2 separate regions of the Homo sapiens genome follow, and region 1 is linked to region 2. The links are contacts of gene promoters, found by promoter capture Hi-C in blood cells and fetal thymus (Javierre and others, 2016). All regions are on one chromosome and are shown on one strand. Each heading gives the region's core, a stretch centred on a gene start or on the middle of the fragment in contact. The rest is flanking DNA. Distances are from core to core; before and after follow the strand shown. Region 1 overlaps CAPZA1 (capping actin protein of muscle Z-line subunit alpha 1). Region 2 holds the start of CTTNBP2NL (CTTNBP2 N-terminal like).

Region 1 (4,348 bases), core at 1,268-3,767, 260 kb before region 2:
GTACGATTAGGTACTGATCTTCTCGGTTACCTGTACCTATTCTGACCTTACAGTTAGTGAGGCTTAAATATTAAATCACCCTGAGTTTAGAAAGTCAAACCTCTGCTAGGATATTAAACTTCAATCCAGACAGGCATCAAATGAGTTAACAGCTATCTTATTCAGCTGCCTGTCTACCCTGACATCAGCATTAAAAATCTACTTCTGGGCCAGGTGCAGTGGCTCACGCCTGTAATCCCAGCATTTTGGGAGGCCGAGGCGGGTGGATCACCTGAGGTCAGGAGATCGAGACCAGCCTAACCAACATGGAGAAACCCCGCCTGTACTAAAAATAGAAAATTAGCTAGGCGTGATGGCGCATGCCTGTAATCCCAGCTACTCGGGAGGCCGAGGCAGGAGAATCACCTGAACCCAGGAGCCAGAGATTGCGAAGAGCCGAGATCATGCCATTGCACCTCCAGCCTGGGCAATAAGAGCAAAACTCCATCTCAAAAATCAATCAATCAGTCAATCAATCAATCAATCAATCAATCTACTTCTGCTTGGCTATTTATATTCCAAAACACCTGCCATTCTCTCTAGTTATAATTTTTAGGAATTAACCCAGCCTGGGCTGGGAGGTGGAGGTTGCAGTTAGCTGAGATCACGTCACTGCACTCCAGTCTGGGTGATGGAGTGAAACTCTGTCCCAAAAAATAATAATTATTATTATTATTAATTTTAAATCTTTCCTAAAACTGCTGTTTGATAATTCCTAGTTATATCTTATGTTACCATTGAAGGAAAAATAACAATAACCATGTTGCCATACACTCTACATGCTATCCTTTATCAACTCAGAATAGCTCTCTCTGTTTACCACCCCAAGAAGGAGGCTTCTATTTCTATTCACTGCCATCAGTCTCCCTTTGCATCTACACATACTTGGTCCTTATTTAATACCAAAGCAACCTGCACATGTTTTAAAGATGTGAAGTTTTAAGTCTATAAACATGTTGGAATCTCACCTGAATCTTAAGCACGCCAACCACCTGGGCTGTAGGTGGTGTGATGGTGAACTTCCACTCTGATCTCCAACGACCATTCCTATTAAAACACACACACAACATTGCAGAATTAGCAATAAGCACAAGAAAGAGGTGATTTGCCACTGAGGTACAGAAGTTGGGAAAGAGGGGTGCAAAAAAAGAAAAAAAAAAAGAGAGAGAGAGAAACTGTCATTTCCAGTTTGGCAAACCCAAAGCTCTGTCTACTCAAATGTAAGTCTGGATCTAAGTGGCCTGACCATAAGCCTTTTCTAAGTTATTTTGTCTTTCATTTTTCCTTTTTTCCCTTGAAATGGAAAACCATGCCTATTCTGCTCATGGGAGGCTCTTCCAAAATCAGATGAATAGGCTGCTGAGTTACACAATTAACTCAAGTAGCAGTAACCCTAAGCCAAGTAAAACTCAGATTTTCAACAGGGCACTTTACTAATCACTTGTTCTCACTCAAAATAAGAGTAACTTTTAAAGGAAAATATAATTATAAAACCTTAGAACTGTAAGGAATCTAAATCCCTCATTTATAGATGGAAAACTGAAGTCTGTAAGTTAAATAATTATTCCAAGCTAGTTGGATTAAAAACCAAGTCTCAACTGCTGGTTTCTTTCAGATGTAAATAGAAGAGAATATCTACTTCTTACCAGAAGTTTTTAGGCTGAAACTGGTGGCTTTCAATACATGCAATAATAGTCTGTTGCCCATCGATAGTTTTAGCATAAACCTATTGTTGGGAAAAAAAAATAGTTAAAGACTCCAAACACTTTTAATTTAAACAACATGCATTGTACAAAAGCAGAGTGTTAAATCCTTGGGGGAGACAAAGAATCACATAAAATGAGCTTAGAACACAATAGTGCACATGGGATATGAAAACAAAGCAGAACATGTTAGGTTCTACCAGAGACAGTGATACAATGAAAACAGAGGGAAATACTGCTCTTGGTTTGGGGTACAAGGCGGGTGCCATTTAGGCTGGGTCATACAAGACAGATGAGATTCTGATAAGCAGAGACTGAAAATAAAGGCAAGACAGGAAACTAAGGACTTGTTCAGTGAACAAGACTGTCAGGTTTAAAGGGTGTGTGTGAAGTGGACTAATGAAAGACAAAACAGGATGGTAGATTTAGGTCATGTAATAGTAGATGTAAAGTAAGAAGTTTAAGATTTTATTCTATAGGCAATGGAGAGACAGCAAAACATGACTAGAACTAATATTGTGGGAGAATAATCAATACTGGTATTCAAGATAAAACGAAGAAAAGCTGAAGCTTGGTTAGGAGGCCACAGGATTAATCTAGGCAACAAGTCAGAGTTATATTAATGGGAATGGAAAGGAAGAGTTGCACACAGAATGTAGAAGTACAATCAAAGTCTAGCAGTATATTGCAAATGATGGGCAAAGGAAAGAAGGAACTCAAGAGTGACTAAAAAGATGGTGGTGTCATTAACAAACTGGAAATTACAGATGGAGATGTCTAGTTAGTAGTTAGAAACACTAACTCTTCTTTAGTGTGGGAGAGGTGAATGGAAATGCAATCACCAAGGGAAAGTAAGAAAAAAAAAATAGCGCTTTATAGTCCACAAAATATGTTCTTACATGTATTTTCTTTTTCCTCTAATAAATCTGATGAAATACAGTGTTATCTACAGATAAGAAGTTGAAGTTCACAAAGCTTCTTGCCTAAGGTCACTCAGGAAGTGGTAAAGGTAGAATCCAAACCCACTGTTTTTGTGACACCGAAGTCTGTGTTACTTTACCTGCATTAAATGAATTATGAACTTTGGGGGAATGCCTACATTTACAAAGGTAGGGGAAAAAAAGAACTTAGTATAGAGTAAGAATAATTAGGGGGCTGGGTGCAATGGCTCAAGCCTGTAACCCCAGCACTTTGAGAGGCTGTGGCAGGGGGATTACCTGAGGTCAGGAGTTCAAGACCAGCCCGGCCAACATGGTGAAACCCCATCTCTACTAAAAATACAAAAATTAGCCAGGTGTGGTGGTGGGCACCTGTAATCCCAACTACTAGAGAGGCTGAGGCAGGAAAATCGCTTGAACCTGAGAGGCGGAGGTTGCAGTGAGCTGAGATCATGCCACTGTACGCCAGCCTGGGCAAAAAGAGCAAAACTCCATCTCTAAAAAAAAAAAAGAATTAGGGGTTGCTGACAGCAGCCTAAGTAAAAGATAATTTCTAGAAGTGGTTGATTGGCTTCAGTGTGAAATGCCATTCGGAAGTCATGGACAAGGAAAAGGACACTGGACCAGGTAACTCAGGAACCATTAGTAAACTCAGAGCAGTTTCTGTAGAATGGAGACTAAAGTAAAAAATTAAAGGGTTCAGAAGTAGATAGAGGAAATGGCATTAGCAGGCAAAGAATATGTACTGACGTGGTGGTGATGCAGAGAGAGATGAGAGAAGGGAAAAAGTGGAGAAGAGGGAGAAAGGGCAAGGTGGAAAGGGCAGACAAAGAAGGAGAAATAGGCCGGGCCTGGTGGCTCATGCCTTGTAGTCCCTACACACACACAACACACACAGAGAAAAATTAGATAGGTATGGTGGTGTGCACCTGTGGTCCTAGCTACTTGGGAAGCTGAGGCGAACGGATTACAAGGTCAGGAGTTCAAGACCAGCCTGGCCAACACAGTGAAACCCCGTCTCTACTAAAAATACAAAAATTAGCCAGGTGTGGTGGCAGGCGCCTGTAATTCCAGCTACTCAGGAGGCTGAGGCAGGAGAATCGCTTGAACCCAGGAAGGGGAGGTTGCAGTGAGCCGAGACCACACCATTGCACTCCAGCTTGGAAGACAGAGTGAGACTCTGTCTCAAAAAAAAAAAAAAAAAATTTCTGTCAGTTTCAATCCTTACAAAACATGGGGGATTAGATGCCTGTCAGAGGACAATGAAAAATGTTTGGAACATACTATGTAGAAAATGTGATAGGGAATAAGGAGATGAAATTACGGACTACTAAGCAGGTCAGCTGAAGACATAAGACATAGGATACTTATATACAGCAGACACCATCACAACAATTCCATGACTTTCTGTAGGTCATTTGATAGCTAAGGACACAGTAGGGTTATTTGGTGCTGGAGCTCTCCAAATTAAGAATGGGTAGTGACAAACTTTGAACAGGTAACAAACAATAAATTCAAAGTATATTTAGGATTAAACAGTCAATTTCTAAATGGGAGTCTATCATGTCTCCCCTTTGCAATACTGGCTTCCCAACAGGAATTCTATACTTGTCCAGTCCACCATAATGGGTATTCTCATTAAAAAAAAAAAAAAAAAAAAAAAAAATC
Region 2 (4,172 bases), core at 1,317-3,816:
GAGTGCAGTGGCATGATCATAGCTCACTGTAACCTCAAACACCTGGGCTCAAGCAAGCCTCCTGCCTCAGCCTCCCAAGTAGCAAGGATTACAGGGATGAGCCACCACACCCTGCCTCACAGATATTTCTTTATAAGAAATTCAAAATTTTAGTCACTTAAGACACTGGAATTTCATAAGACAGAAGATGGGGAAAATCAAGTTAAATGAAGACAACAAGTAGGCCGTTTATACTAACAAATTGTGCCAAATCTAATCAGTACATTGCCTTTCAGTCTACCCTAAGGTGACAGCCTCAAACTAAGTTAAACAAACACTCATGAAGTCATACTATATACTAGGAACTGTGAAAGATATAAAGATGAAAAACAAAAAATACTACTATCTGCCCTCAAAGAATTTATAATTCAAGGAGAGAGATCAGACATCTATCCTCTGCATACTATGCTTTTCTTCACCTAGCATGACCAAACAGGTGTTGAAAAGGTTAAAGGAAAGATTTTCAAGACCCAAAAGTGTAACAAACAGATCTTGCTTACTGTGCTAAATAATAAAAGAATATTATTTGCTTTTTCCTATTAAACCTCGGCAATCACAACTTTGGTTTGCTTAGTCTCTTACCTTAGTTTATTTTCTGTTCTCTGTTGATATAATACAACTTATCTTTTTGGGATTTTCTGTTCTGCTTTTAGTTTTTTCTGCTGTTATTGCTGGGAGCTCACGTCTTACCCTTCTATTGCAGCACACATTGCGTTTGCTAGAGACACCCTCCAGTTTCTTCTTTGTACTTTCTTACTGGAGATTTGGAAACAATCACTGAGAAGACCTGTGAGCACCGAGTGGCTCTGAAAACTTCAAACCTAACTATTCAAAAGTAATTATCTTTAGGAAGTCTACCTTCAGAAAGTCTAATCAAGAAGGTAAAAGACAACAGTCATTACAATCACCCTCCGTGATTCCAACTCCTTGCATTTTATTGCCATCAGCTTTGGCTATAGCTGACAGAGGGGAGGTAGACTTGAGATTGGAAGCAAAAGAAACTATGCTAAAAACATGGTAAATTTTAATATATAAAAGCGCTAGCAATAGATGATTACTGGGGATTCAACGACATTAACATGAGGTCAAAATCAACACTTTGCACCTGCTGAAATGAAGACCACTTGACAAAACCTTTAGGAGCACACTAGAAGAGGCACTTTTTGGTAAACATGAATAGCTAGAATACCTTGCCTTTATTTACTCTTATCTCTGAGATTTAAAAATTGTTCTTACTTTTCATCCTCTAAATTTTGATAGATGATCGTAAAACCAATCAAAATATACATGAATGTTTCCTGGGGGCGGGGAGGACACTATAAAAAAGGGGTTAGAGAGTTACCAAAGGACATAGGACTAGATTAATCATAAACCTAGATGACTGACCCTGAATTTTCTTCAAACACTTCCTGTCTTTTGTTTCAACCTGCAGTATACCTTCAAGGTTAACTGCAGTCTCCCTGAGCAATGGACCAGCCCACCCTAGACTGGGATATACTCATTCCTAATCCACTGCTACTTATTTACTTATGTATACTGTTTCATTTGAAAACATGGTGTTATTCATTGACTGTCAAGCAACATATACTGCATTCCTGCCCACACAAAGCCAGCTCTGCAGATATCCAACACACCCACCTCACTGTGAAATATAAGATGGCTTTTCATCAAGTTCTCAGGGAGGAAATAGGGTGGAAAAGGAAAAATGAAACGCAATTCAAACCTAAGAAACCCTTAGAGGCTGGGTGCTCCCAGAAGGAACAGAAAGTAGAAGGAAGGTACAAAGGGTGAAGGAGAGGAGGTCCTAGTTCTCCCTCTTTCACAGTCCAAAACAGTCCCAAAACAGGAGAGCTCTCGACTCCTCACAAGAGGCCAGAGGATGCGAGGGGCTGCGGGAGGAAGACTGAGCATCAGAGAATGGGGGATGGGAAGAACTTAAGTGGGAGAAGCCGCTTCCTCCGTAAAGCTGGCTGTCTAGGTCGGTCTTTGATTTTTGCTTCGCCCCATCCCTCCTTTTTGGGAAACACCAATTTTATCTTACGGAGGAAAGCAGCTCCAGTCCCACCCTGGCGAGCAGGGACAGGTGTAGGGAGGGATGTTTGGCCTTCCGGGGGTACGAAATGGGGTTGGGGGCGGCAGCCTAGAGAATCGGTACCTGTGAGTCCTCTCCGCCAAGGCTGAGGTGCGGGGTGGGAGGTGCCTTTGAATGAGGGGTGTCAGAGGGAAGCCCCTTCTGAGGAGCTGGGAATCGACGAGGGACAAAAAGTAGCTGTGAGGACCCTCGGAGGATGAGGAGCCGCCTCCTCGGGGAATACCGGGAGGTGGAGGAGACGGCCCCGCCCCCTCAGGGGATGGGCCCAGAGGCCGTTGAGACGGCGGCGGGAGGCTACCGGTGCCCCTATCCTTGCTTTGCTCTTGAGAACCCGGCCTCCCAGCCATCACCAAGCCCCAGGGATAGTTGCTCCTACCTTTCCACGACGCTCCGGGCTCCGCTCCCCTCCGCCTCCACTCCCCATCCACAGCGGCTGAGGCTCCGCCCCCTCAGCCGCCCGGCGGGGGCATTGGCATTCACCAGCGCCAATCGCCTCCTTGCTTCTCCAGCCTCGGCCCCAATCCGCGCCGGCTGGAGGCGGGGCTTCTCCAAAGTCATTCAGGCTCCTCCCGGGGCCCCAAGATCCCTTTTGTTTGGGAAGAGCAAGGCCGGGATTGAGCTCGCGTCACTTCCGGGAGGAAGCGCCCTCCTGGGTCCTGGGCTTCAGGGTGGGCTCGCGCCCCTCCCGGCTCGGGGTCTGCAACTTTCCACCTCTGCGTGAAAAGTCTGGGCAGGACCGTGACTAGTGCTTCGTGCTTTTACCTGACTGTACGCGGAGTTTAGGAATGGAGGGCTCTGGTGGCCTAATCGATTGGGATTTTATCCAGAATGTTAATAAATGAAGTGGGCTTTGGTGTCTGCATTAGAATGAATTCGTTGTTGAAAAACCTGGCTTCCTTGCTCCCTTTTTTTTTTTCTTTTTTCTGGAAGCGCCTGTGGGCGTGGTGCTGGAAGCAAGGGTGCAAAGATGAAACACCTGGAGATCACCCTTCTCTCAACCACATTTTGTACAGAAGAGGATACTAACTTTGGGGGACATAAACCCAGCCGACCTGCCTTCCAGGCGGAAGTCAAATAATTGCAAATTTGTGTGGCAGGTTTTTCCACCCTATGCTTGCCAGCTGAGGCGACTTTTTTCTTTCCTTGGCCTCATTATATTGTGGGGAATGGTGTTTGCAGTGAAGTTGAAACAATGGAGAGTACAGAGGATGCAAGGAATGTCTGCCTTGTGAACACAGGAATGCAGATCTTGGTGGCAGCAAGTCTTAGGCAGGACCAAATAACTCAGAGAGGGGAGTGGATGTATAACTAGTTGTATCCCTACCTAAGGTCAAAGTTTCTGAATTCCTTTTCCACAGAATGGCTGTCAGCTCACAGATTGATGCAGCTGGTTACATTTACAATAACCACATTATTTAAAATACAATATAATAAATATTTGAGACGAATATTCATAATGCATAAATAATGTAGTACACTTAATACATTATCCCTAAACTTAGCAATTATAATTCGCAAGACAGCATTAGGGACCTAGTGCTTGCCTAGGCAGACAGTCCCCAAGGCAGATGCAGCCTGCCTCATGCAGTTTACAGTCTGACTGAGGGATGTGATCAGTTTGTGCGATTATAGTCTGAAAGAAGTAAACAAGTATTTATCATGTTATCACTGTGCCATGTACTTTCATTTAATGGTATTTGATGTCATTTTCAGTGCTGTATGAGAAATCTATCCTACAGTGTAGGATAGACATCATTGTGTCCAATTTACAGATGAGAAGATAGAGATTCAGAGAAGTCAAATAAAGTCATAGAGCTAGTAAATGGTAAAGAATTTCCAGTAAGGATGTATGACTCCATACTTATGCCATATTCTGCTCACTTCACACTGGCTCTCACATGCTGGACTAAGAATGGGCGTGGATGATGGTAAAGCAAACATTAGAGCCAGAAGGACAGCTCTATGCCTCCCCCTGTTGATTTTAGGCTTGGGAGGGTCATCTCTGTATATGAAGGATAGCAAGACTATGAGTGAAGGTGCT

What was found. The method cuts DNA at HindIII sites, captures the fragments that hold promoters and counts their contacts. A CHiCAGO score of 5 or more calls a contact.
Region 1: a contact is called between a fragment that was not itself captured here and the fragment with the promoter of CTTNBP2NL in region 2, in 4 of 17 cell types (naive B cells, M2 macrophages, endothelial precursors and 1 more). The highest score is 7.6, in naive B cells.

Annotation. Positions count from the first base shown.
Region 1 is chr1:112,656,439-112,660,786 of GRCh38, reverse strand. It overlaps CAPZA1 (capping actin protein of muscle Z-line subunit alpha 1), which reads right to left. Exons shown (of 10, transcript NM_006135.3): 6 at 1,686-1,765; 7 at 1,008-1,086. Among named protein-coding and RNA genes, the nearest start is that of MOV10, 16 kb to the left of the region's middle. The HindIII fragment of the contact is 405 bases long and covers 2,315-2,719 here.
Region 2 is chr1:112,394,608-112,398,779 of GRCh38, reverse strand. CTTNBP2NL (CTTNBP2 N-terminal like) reads right to left here and starts at 2,566. Exons shown (of 6, transcript NM_018704.3): 1 at 2,508-2,566. RefSeq lists a silencer at 2,319-2,368. The HindIII fragment of the contact is 10,453 bases long and covers 1-4,172 here.